Regions from separate parts of the Homo sapiens genome. Here all the other regions are linked to region 1. Evidence: promoter capture Hi-C in 16 types of primary human blood cells and fetal thymus (Javierre and others, 2016). All regions are on one chromosome and are shown on one strand. The core of a region is centred on a gene start or on the middle of the fragment in contact, and the rest is flanking DNA. Distances in the headings are between cores, read along the strand shown. Region 1 holds the start of ADI1 (acireductone dioxygenase 1). Region 2 holds the start of RRM2 (ribonucleotide reductase regulatory subunit M2). Region 3 overlaps CPSF3 (cleavage and polyadenylation specific factor 3).

The links. The method cuts DNA at HindIII sites, captures the fragments that hold promoters and counts their contacts. A CHiCAGO score of 5 or more calls a contact.
Region 2: the fragment with the promoter of RRM2 here is called in contact with the fragment with the promoter of ADI1 in region 1 in 1 of 17 cell types (monocytes); the score reaches 5.5 in monocytes.
Region 3: a fragment that was not itself captured here is called in contact with the fragment with the promoter of ADI1 in region 1 in 4 of 17 cell types (non-activated CD4 T cells, naive B cells, monocytes and 1 more); the score reaches 10.7 in non-activated CD4 T cells.

What each region holds. Positions count from the first base shown.
Region 1 is chr2:3,517,961-3,521,297 of GRCh38, reverse strand. ADI1 (acireductone dioxygenase 1) reads left to right here and starts at 1,767. Exons shown (of 4, transcript NM_018269.4): 1 at 1,767-1,930. The coding sequence starts at 1,811. LOC124907725 (a long non-coding RNA gene) reads right to left here and starts at 1,752. Exons shown (of 2, transcript XR_007086195.1): 1 at 1,342-1,752. RefSeq lists enhancers at 1,059-1,579, 1,580-2,101 and silencers at 1,521-1,650, 1,721-2,040, 2,121-2,180, 2,661-2,860. The HindIII fragment of the contact is 6,500 bases long and covers 1,186-3,337 here.
Region 2 is chr2:10,121,051-10,124,387 of GRCh38, reverse strand. It overlaps RRM2 (ribonucleotide reductase regulatory subunit M2), which reads right to left and starts at 1,649. Exons shown (of 10, transcript NM_001034.4): 1 at 1,491-1,649; 2 at 1,331-1,405; 3 at 858-1,001; 4 at 536-652. The coding sequence starts at 1,589. RefSeq lists silencers at 1,688-2,188, 1,595-2,194 and enhancers at 2,415-2,524, 2,545-2,614, 2,372-2,927, 2,976-3,337. The HindIII fragment of the contact is 3,317 bases long and covers 1-3,017 here.
Region 3 is chr2:9,423,793-9,427,129 of GRCh38, reverse strand. CPSF3 (cleavage and polyadenylation specific factor 3) reads right to left here. Exons shown (of 18, transcript NM_016207.4): 1 at 3,307-3,337. Among named protein-coding and RNA genes, the nearest start is that of CPSF3, 1.8 kb to the right of the region's middle. RefSeq lists enhancers at 3,240-3,289, 3,330-3,337. The HindIII fragment of the contact is 1,985 bases long and covers 964-2,948 here.

The DNA.
Region 1 (3,337 bases), core at 518-3,017:
GGTCACTCTGGGTGCTGTGCATAGAATGGATTGCACTGGGGCAAAAATGGAAGCGGTGTGAGGAGGGGGAATTTCAGTAGTCAATTCCATCAGGCAAGAAAAGACTGCAGAAAGAGTTGGGCTGGAGAGAAGTGAATGGATTTGCGGTGTGTTTCGAAGGTCAAAGCAACATGACTTGCTGATAGATTGGATTGGATCTTGAGGGTGAGGAAAAGCAAAACTGAGAGTACACCTAGATTTTTTTATTAAGCCACTGGGCAGTCAGTGCTGCCGTTCACTGAGACGGGAAAGGTTAGGGAGAAGCATGTTTGGGGGTGTGTGTGGGGAATCAGTTGTTTTGGCCATGTTAGGTTTGACACACTGATTAGCCATGTATGTGACAACACCAACTGGATACTCAAGCCTGAGGTTCTGGAATGAGGTCCAGGTTGGAGATGTGGCTGCAGGAGCCGGCAGCACAGCATGGAAAGTCGCCTGGAGTGAGTGGATAGGAACAGGACGAGGAGAGTCTGGAACGCTCCACTAACCAGTGGTTAGAGGAGCAGGAGCTAGGAGGGGCCTGGGAAGGAGCAGCCAAGATGCCCTCATGAAGGAAAATGAGAAAATGTTTCAAGAAGGGCGTGGGCAACTGTGACGAATGTTGCTGGTAAGAACAGAAGTGCCATGATTGGATCTGGCAATATGGCAGTCATTAGCAGTTCCCCAGTGGTGAGAAGCGAAGCCTTATTGCAGTGGCTTAAGGAGAAAATGCGAGGTGCGAGATTGCCATTAGATTCTTGCATGAAGGTTTGTCATGAGTGCTGCAGAAAAATGGGCAATGGCGTCTAAGGTGTGTTCTTGAAGGATGAGTAGTAACTGGTCAAGTGAAGAGGTGGAGAGGTAGGCTCTCTAAGGAGGATGTATTTGCAAAGCCATTAGAGCAAGGGAACAGAAATGAAATAAGTGTGTATTTTTCTTGCAATATTTCTGGAAGTTCAAGAGTCAATTGCATGCATTGGGGTTGTGCTCTTACAGCAGTCTCATTTAAATCCTGTCTGCTTTATCGTTATTTGTTAAAGAGACTGAGGGAATGGCTGAGATAATCTGATCTTTTTCAACTCGTTGGTTTGAAAAGACATCTAGGATGGTCAAGCGGCTGGACTTTATTAGCTACATTGAAAAATTCAGAATGGGATAGGGGAAGCTTGTTTTTATTCTAAGACTAGCACATTACAGTGTATGGGGAAGGGAGAAACGATGAAAAGAGGAAACAAGAGGAAGTTTAAAAAGTACAGGGTAGCACTGCAGAATGCCGACACTGCAAAAGTCTGGCGAGCGGGGAGGTGGAGGACAATGTCTCACCTGGGATCCGAGCTGTGAAGTCTCAACTGTGCCCATATGGACTGCATGAGCTTAACAAAATCCTTATTCTTTTTTTTTTTTTTTTGCATTTGCTTTCCATACTCTAAACACGTTTAACGTCGTTTGCCTCACAAGATTGCTCTGAAGGTGCAGGGAGACCGCGGCAGCACACACAAGGCACGTGCGATGCCTACGGTGAGCTTCACCTGCCCGGCGCGTCTGGCGAACGGCTGGCCCCGGGCCGCGGGCCTCAGGCAGGTCCGAGGGTGCCCAGGACAGGGTCGGGGCTTGAATGCCTTTGCTTCCGAAAACAGCGGAGCCGTGGGGCCTCCCCCGCGCCGGCCCTGCCTCCAACCAGCCGCCCAATCCCGGCTCCCATGCGCGTCCACGCCTCCCTATAAGATAAAGCGCGGCCGACGGGCTCCGAGCGCGGCCCCTGGGTTCGAACACGGCACCCGCACTGCGCGTCATGGTGCAGGCCTGGTATATGGACGACGCCCCGGGCGACCCGCGGCAACCCCACCGCCCCGACCCCGGCCGCCCAGTGGGCCTGGAGCAGCTGCGGCGGCTCGGGGTGCTCTACTGGAAGGTACGCGAGCCCAAGCCTCGCAGAGCGTGCGGGCGACGCCGACCCCCAAACGCCGCGCACAGCCCAGCCTCCTCCAGGTGCCGGGCAGCGGCCTGGGAGCCGCGGCATGCTGCGCATGCTCAGCAGCGGGATTTGGGGGTTCGTGGCGGCTCCCGGTGCCTGGGGTGGGCTGCGCATGCTCAGCAGTGGGGCTGGGTGGTCAGGGCCTCCTGCGCGGCGCCTGGGTGTGCTGCGCATGCTCAGCAGCGGCGTTGAGGGGTCGGCGGTCAGCCCCCAGCGCCTGTGGTGTGCTGCGCATGCTCAGCAGCGAAGTTTACGGGGTTGGCGGTCGGCTTCCGGCGCCTGGGGTGGGCTGCGCATGCTCAGCAGCGGGGCTGGTGGGGGTCGGCGGTCCGTTTCTGTTGCCTGGGGTGTGCTGCGCATGCTCAGCAGCAGAGTTGGCGAGTCAGGGGCCTCGCAGCCGGGACTCGCTGCGCACGCGCAGCTCCGGGATTGGCAGCGACCTGAAGGGTCGGCCGGCAGGGCTGCAAGATTCGCCGGAGGCGGGCTGCGAGTTCGTGGGCTCGTTGGGCTTGTCCGACGCCCTGCCTGCCTGGCTAACCTCGGTCAAAGGCCCAGGGGTTTCTTCTATCGGAGGAAGGGGGACTCCGCTTGAAAGTGTCCTGGGGGAGGGACCGGGCGCCAGCAGATCGAGGCGGGGTCCTGCCGCGGTCTGTCGGGGATCCCCGGGGGGTAGCGCTCGGTGGTGGGGTGGGGGCGTCTCCAGTGGGCGGTGGAGCTGGCTTGGGTCCCGGCTGGGCCCGGTGTCAGCCCTGCCTCTGTAACGCTAGCTTTGCAAGGCGGGGCTAGGCTTTGCACCGGTGTCCCGTTGCTTGCACAGCACCAGTCCAGATCCGCTCACCTTGTTTATTTGCAAATGGTTTTGCAGTAACAAAGGTTTACTGCAAAAGAGAGGGCCAGGGTAGGCCTCAGGGATAGGCTGAGGGGTGACTGGATCTAATCTTCATTCATGTGATTTAAATGAAATACACAGGGTTACCTGGACACCACACTTTTTCCCTTGGGAAAGGATTATAGAATATTCCAGCATAATCTATTTGGATATCATCTTGTTCTATCCTAAATAACAGAAGAGGGAAGTGACAATTGGCATACCAGTGCGAAACAGGGCATGCATGTTAATGTTTACATAGTATTTGTCTTTTCCTAGGATAAGGTTTAACACTTACCTTGCTGGAGGGTACTTCTTCAAAGCAATCAAGTGGTTTATAGTTTTCCATTAATGAGAGGAGAATAAATTTTGACTTATTATGTTTATCCACAATCCAAACAACCAGAGGGTTCAAATTAATACACTTGGGGAGTTTCATTGTGCATTTGACGGTTTTAAGAACAAGAACAAGAGTG
Region 2 (3,337 bases), core at 400-2,899, 6.6 Mb before region 1:
ACGCCTGTAATCCCAACACTTTGGGAGGCCAAGGTGGGTGGATCACCTGAGGTCAGCAGTTCGAGACCAGCCTGGCCAACATGGTAAAACCCTGTCTCTACTAAAAATACAGATATTAGCTAGGCATGGTGGCGCACGTCTGTAATCCCAGGTACTCATGAGGCTGAGGTTGGGGAATCGCTTGAACCCAGGAGGCGGAGGTTGCAGTGAGCCAAGATCACACCACTGCACTCCAGCCTGGGCCAGAGTGAGACTCTGTCTCAAAAAAAAAAAAAAAAAGAGGGGGCAGATGTGGTGGCCACAAAGAGTCATCACATTGCTACCACTTAATATTGTCTCAGCTTCTCTAGAGTCGGGAAAATACCATAAGAAAGAACTGCAAAGTGTTACAAAACAGGAAATGCCATGTAATATAAAACCCAGCTTACACACACAGATGCACTCAGCATGGAAAAACATACAAGACGAGGAAAGCGAACTAGTTCGACCTCAGATCGTCAACGTCAAATGAATGAAAGATGTTTTGGAAACTCACCAAGTTTTCATTTACTATGCCATCGCTTGCTGCAAAGAAAGCCAGAACATGGGATATAAAATATCTCTCCTCGGGTTTCAGGGATTCCCAGTGCTGAATGTCCTTGGAGAGGTCCACCTGAGGTTCGGAAGTCACAATTTTAGCATAAAAGGAAGAGAGTAAAGCCTACAGGACTCACACTGAGCACTCAAACTTTAAGTATGCTGGCACCACTTACTATGCCCCACAGTTAGCCCCCCTTGCCAACGGGAACCTCCAAGTGCATTTATGTCTGAGGCGTGACGGTCACCCCTGCAGGGGTCTTCTGGGGTCCTCCGATTACCTCCTCGGCGGTCCAAAAGGAAGCCTCTGCCTTCTTATACATCTGCCAGATATCATGGTACTCGATGGGGAAGATGACAAAGCGGCGGGGGTTTTCTCTCAGCAGCGGCTCATCCTCCACGCCGGGGGCAGCTGCTTTAGTTTTCTGTTGGGGGAGAAAATAAAACATTTAAGTACCGGGCGAACCATATGAAACTAACGTTTTTCTGGACCAAGTCCTTTCCATTGGCGGCAATTTCACGGGGCCCGATGTGAAAACGTGGCTGTCCCGTCGCACTCCGTGGGTCGCAGCAGAGGAGCGCACGCCCGAACCGGGAAATGGGCCGAGGGGCGCGGGAGGCAGCCCTGGGGAGGGGCCGCCTAGGCGGGAAAGGAGCCGGGGCGGGAGTGTGAACAGCTGAGGAAACAATGCGGCTTTGGCGCCAAGACGCCCAAGGCCGTCCCTGGCCCCTCTGCCCCACGCCCGCCACTCACCGGCTCCGTGGGCTCCTGGAAGATCCTCCTCGCGGTCTTGCTGGCCAGGACGCGGGTCCCGCTCAGGGCCGGCGGCTGCGGGGAGACGCGTGTGAGTGAGGAGCGGCTTCGCTTTCCCTGCCTCCCTCCCCTGCCCGCAGCGCCCTCCCCGCGGGCTCACCGTGTTCTCCTTGTCGACCAAGCTGAGCCCCTTCAGCGGCGAGAGCTGCAGCTGCTGCGGGTCCGTGATGGGCGCGAGCGGGACACGGAGGGAGAGCATAGTGGAGGCGCAGCGAAGCAGAGCGAGCAGCCAGGACAGGACGGCTGGGACAGGGTGCACGGGCGACCCCTCACTCCAGCAGCCTTTAAATCTCCCGCGCCGCGCGCTCCCGGCCCTTCCCATTGGCTTTGGTGCCCCGGCCCTTCCCATTGGCTGTGCCATGCCTCCGACCCTTCCCATTGGCTGCGCCTTGCCCCTACCCAGGCTGGCCGCGGGGCCGCGCGCGATTTTCAAGCGCAGCGCGGGAGCCTCCGCCGGCGCCTTCCGGAGACCCCCGGGGACACCCCCGTGGACGCCCCCCGGGACCTCCCGGTTCCCCCCCCGGCCCGTCCGCTGGCTGGGTCGGGGGCGCCGCCGCCCAGGCCCCCACAGGTCCCGCGGGACCAGGGCCGCAGCCCCTGAGGGTCTCGGCGGCCTTGGCGCGCGCGGGCCCCGGTTCGCCCGGGAACCGTTTAGGATTGCGTGAGGAGCAGCGATTGGAGCCCGCGGGCGCGAGAGGATCCCCGGGCCGCGGCCCCGCCTCCCGAAAGCACCTCCTCCCAGCCGGGCCGCCGCCGGGCAGGGGGCTTAGCCAACGAGGTTGGTGCAAAGGCCTGGAAAACGCTCCTGGGTGCGGGGGAGGCGTTGCTGCGACCCTTTCGATCCGTGTCCCTGCGGTGGGGGTGCAAGGGCCCCGAGGCCTGACATTTTGGCGGGGTGGTCGGCGAGGACCCTACAGCCTAAAAGTTAGGGCCGCTGAGCCCCGTGGCTCGTTTTGCTGGGACAAGCGACCAGGCTTCTTACAGATTCGGTGTCCCCGTGAGTAAAATGGGACTCGTAACCGCGTGGACTGTTAATGCGGTGAGGAGAGCGTTCGTTGAGATGACTCATGTAAAATGTGCAGTCCTTTGTAAACCTTCAAACTACGGGACATGGCGAGAAGGCCCTTGGTGCAGTTTTCCACAGAAATCCTGTCTCCTGTCAGACCCCTGACCCCTATTGTCACCCTTGCCTTAAGAATTGCAAACTGTGGCTGGGCGCGGTGGCTCACGCCTGTAATCCCAGCACTTTGGGAGGCCAAGGCAGGAGGATTGTTTGAGGCCAGGAGCTGGAGACCATCCTGGGCAACATAGTGAGACCCCGCCTCTGCCATTAAAAAGAGAAGAAAAAAAGTTGTTTTAATTGCAAACTGAGCAAAAATTCCTGGGAGAAAGTTCACAGAATGATTTTAGGACTAGGAATTAATGTACTACTCATTGGGCGTCAAATATGCTGAAGAGGAGTTTGAAAACTCCACTGGTGTAGAGACTGGAACTTAGCAATAGCTTTCATTTAATTTTCTATGTGGCTTTCTGATTTGCCAGGCCCTGCAACGGGCAAAATGCCAAAAATAAAGGAAGAGAAAGAAACTTTAAGATCCAAGAAAGAAATCATTAACCTGAGAAAGCTTCAACAGCTGCGCTCAGGGCTGTTATTGAGAGAGACCCGGGACTTTTTTTTTCACAAAGCCTTTTCTAGATAAGATACTTTAAAGAGGGTGGGGTGGGACAGGTACCCTCCCCACCTAGGTCTGTTTCTCTCATTTCTTAAAAGTACTACGGACTTGTAAATCATAGTATTCTCGTGTTGCAGGAATAAGTGCCCATCACATTCCTTACACAAAGCCACAACTAAAACTTTGGTGTACCATGATTTGTTTAAAGCAACTCGCCATTCATCGCCATTTTCACCCCAAACACACTAAAGCATCCATCTCCAGGAAACTGGTA
Region 3 (3,337 bases), core at 707-3,206, 5.9 Mb before region 1:
GTCTGCTCTTTACCATCCAATCCAAATTTAAACATACTACAGCCATGTTCATCCCCAAATTAAAATCCCTTGACTCTAAGCTCCTTTAGTTCCCACTTTATTCTTTCCCCAGACCACCTCCCAGGGCAGTGGACCCTCTTGTACTTCCTCACCTTCTACTCGCTCCTCAATTCGCTATACTCTGGCTTTTACCAATCACTTTTCTGAAACTGTCCTTGCTGCTCAGTAGTCATTTCAGTCTTTTTTTTTTTTTTGAGACAAGGTCCCCCTATGTTGCCCAGTCTGGCCTTCAACTCCTGGGCTCAAGTGATCCTCCCGCCTCAGCCTCCCAAGTAGCTGGAACTATAGGTGTCAGTCCCTATCTTGTTCTCTTGGCAGCCGTTGTCACTCCTAAGGAGTACCTGCTCCTTCCTCAAGCACCTCTCCCTTGGCTTCTCTGACCTGATGCTCTCATCTTGTCTTGCTGGCTTTCCTGTTTCCTTCACATATTCAGCCACCTCTGCCTACCCTTTAAATGTTGATATTCCGAGGGTTTGCTCCTTGGCCAACTTCTCAATCTTCATTCTCATCTTTCTGACATGCTAAGGACTTCCAAGCCTGTATTTGTAACCCAGATTGTTCTTCTGAATTCTAGACCTTTAATACATACACGTGACACTAGGTATCTCTACTAGGATCTCTCCCGGGACTTCATATTCAAGATGCCAAACTAGTTTCCACCACATGCCCCGTACTTGCTCTACTTTCTTCCTGAAATGCTTTGTCTTCAGATATTGATGTGGTTGGCTCCTTTGTATCATTTGGGTCTCAGTTCCAACGTCACCTTCTCAGATGCTTTCCCTTGACTACCTCCTCTAATTTGCCCTTCACAGCAAGCCACAACCCAGCATCAGTTATCTTAATACAACTACATGAAGTTATTGTACCTACTTATGTCTTCTTTCAGGCTACTAAATGAAAGCTTCCTAAGAACAGAGGCATTGTCCATCTTATTCACTGCTGTATTGCTACAGTACCTGGCATGTAGCACATCACAAAAAATACTTATTGAATGAACAAAACTCCTCAATTTTGAACCTTGGAAAGATTATGCTAAATGAAAGATGCCAGAGACAAAAGAGTATGTATTGTATGATCACACTTACATGAAATGTCCAGAACAGGCAAATCTATAAAGAAGTAGATTAGTGGTTGCTTAGGGCTGGAGAGGTAGTGGGGATTGTCTATGACTGCTAATGAATACAAGGTATCTCTTGGGAGTGATGAAAATGTGCTGGAATTAGAGAGAGGTGATGGTTGTATAACTCTATGTTAAGAACGACTGAATTATACTCTTTAAATGAGTTGTATGGTATGTAAATTGTGAGTTGTATGGTATGTAAACTGTATCTCAATAAAGCTGTTACGAAACAACCAAATTCCCAAATTTACTCCAGAGTTGCCCCATCTCTTATACTCCTTGAGTGAATAACACTACCCTTTCCCAACTGCCAAACTTAGGAATCTGATCATAACATCCTCTCTGCCCTGCCTTCCCTCCCCACAACCACCCTTCCAGATACAGCTGATCAGCCACAAAATCCTGAAGATCTCATTTGCATACTCTCTCACACTCACATCACTCACTACAGGCTCTCGTCAGCTAGACTTAGAATCTTTCAATATCTCACTGAATCTGCTCTACTCAATCCATGCTTTTATTCATCCATGCTTTTATTCATCTGCTACACTGCTGCCAGGAGAGATTTTCCTAAAACATAATTCCCACAATATCCATGCTTGCTTAATAGCCTTCGCTGGCTCCCTGTAATTGACTTGATAAAGGTCCAAACTCCTGTGTATACGAGGTGCTTCCTAAACTGGACCTCAACTGCCTGTCGCTTCATCTGCTAACTCAACTCTTTAGCTACAGCCATGAGGAATCTGGCCACAAGCTGTGACCACTCTCACTTTCATATGTGCCACTTCCACTGCCTAGAACATCCTGGGCCCCCCAGTCTTTAACTCCTACTCATTCTTTAGGACTCAGCTCAGGCATCACATTTTTCAGGATCCACGAGGTATCCTTTTTTCCTCAATCTGTCAGAAATCCCTTTTCCATACTTTCACAGTGCTCAGTGCAATGCCTGCCTGCGTTCTTAGATTAGCTATTATTTACAAAGCACCTACCGCGATGTTCACTCTTCAAGTTTTATCTTATTTCCATATGAGAAAACGGGTTCAGTGAGATTGTTGTCCTACTAATTGGTCAAGTAGATAATGGACTTCAGGTCTGACTTCAAAGTAATAGTCTCCTATTATTCCAAAGTATCTCTCCAATATTTCCCACTGTGCACTGTAATTCTCTCCAAAAGAGCGAGAGCAATTAACTGGGCCCTCTGTTGCGTCTATATCCCCATGTGTGGTGCTTGACACTTGCTCAGTGTTTGCTCATCACAGGAAGACATGACAGGTGTGAACTAAGCAGAAGGAAACGGACTATGTCCCAAGCAGGTGCTCAATGAAGCCTTACTGAATGATTGTGTAAAGGAGATACTTTCTACCTTTTGGAAAGCGTATATTCATGTTGTGCCAACTAGTATCTAACAATAAACATGTTGTGGGTTCGAAATGCTCATCTGTAGGAATTCAAGTTCTCTACATTTGCATCTCCCCTTCAGCAGCATTCCCGACTGATGAGGATCGTGTCCACTGAAAGGCCACTCTCCTTATGGACAGTCGAGGGCTGAGTTTTTGTCCCTAACACCTCTGCACTTTCTCTTCTCCAGCTTTACACCTTCCTTATTCTACTAGGGCCTGAGCTGAGAAGATCGAAACTCACGGCAAGTCCCTAATATTTTCTAACTTCTGGCACATGTGAAGCCCTGGTGTTAAGAAACAGACTTAATTCTTCCCTGCACGGCTGTAGCCTCATTCAGGTCCTCCTCTCATCCTGTCGGTCATAAGCTTCACCGGCTCCCTCACAGCTTGCCCTGACGCGCAGAGATCCGTGCTTGTGCTAAGTGAAAACGCTTCTTAGCGTGTACGAAAGCGAGCGGTGGCCCCGTAAAACTTTTTTTTTTCCGACTCCAACATACCCTCCCCTGAAACTGATGAAAAAGCAAAATCCCGTTCACTCTATAGCAGGCCCCTTCCGATCAACGGTCCTCCAACCCCTCGAGCCTGAGAAGCCTGGCCCGCAAGCGCGGACCAAAGGCAGGCTGCCGGGGTAGGTGGGAGCGCGGGCGACGGAGGAGGCCAGTCTCCGGTTACCCCTCGCGCCCCTCACAGCCCGTGGCTTCATTCCCTCTCTCGCTGGTCCCTTACAGGGGTCGGATCAGCAGCTGGTCGCTCTCCT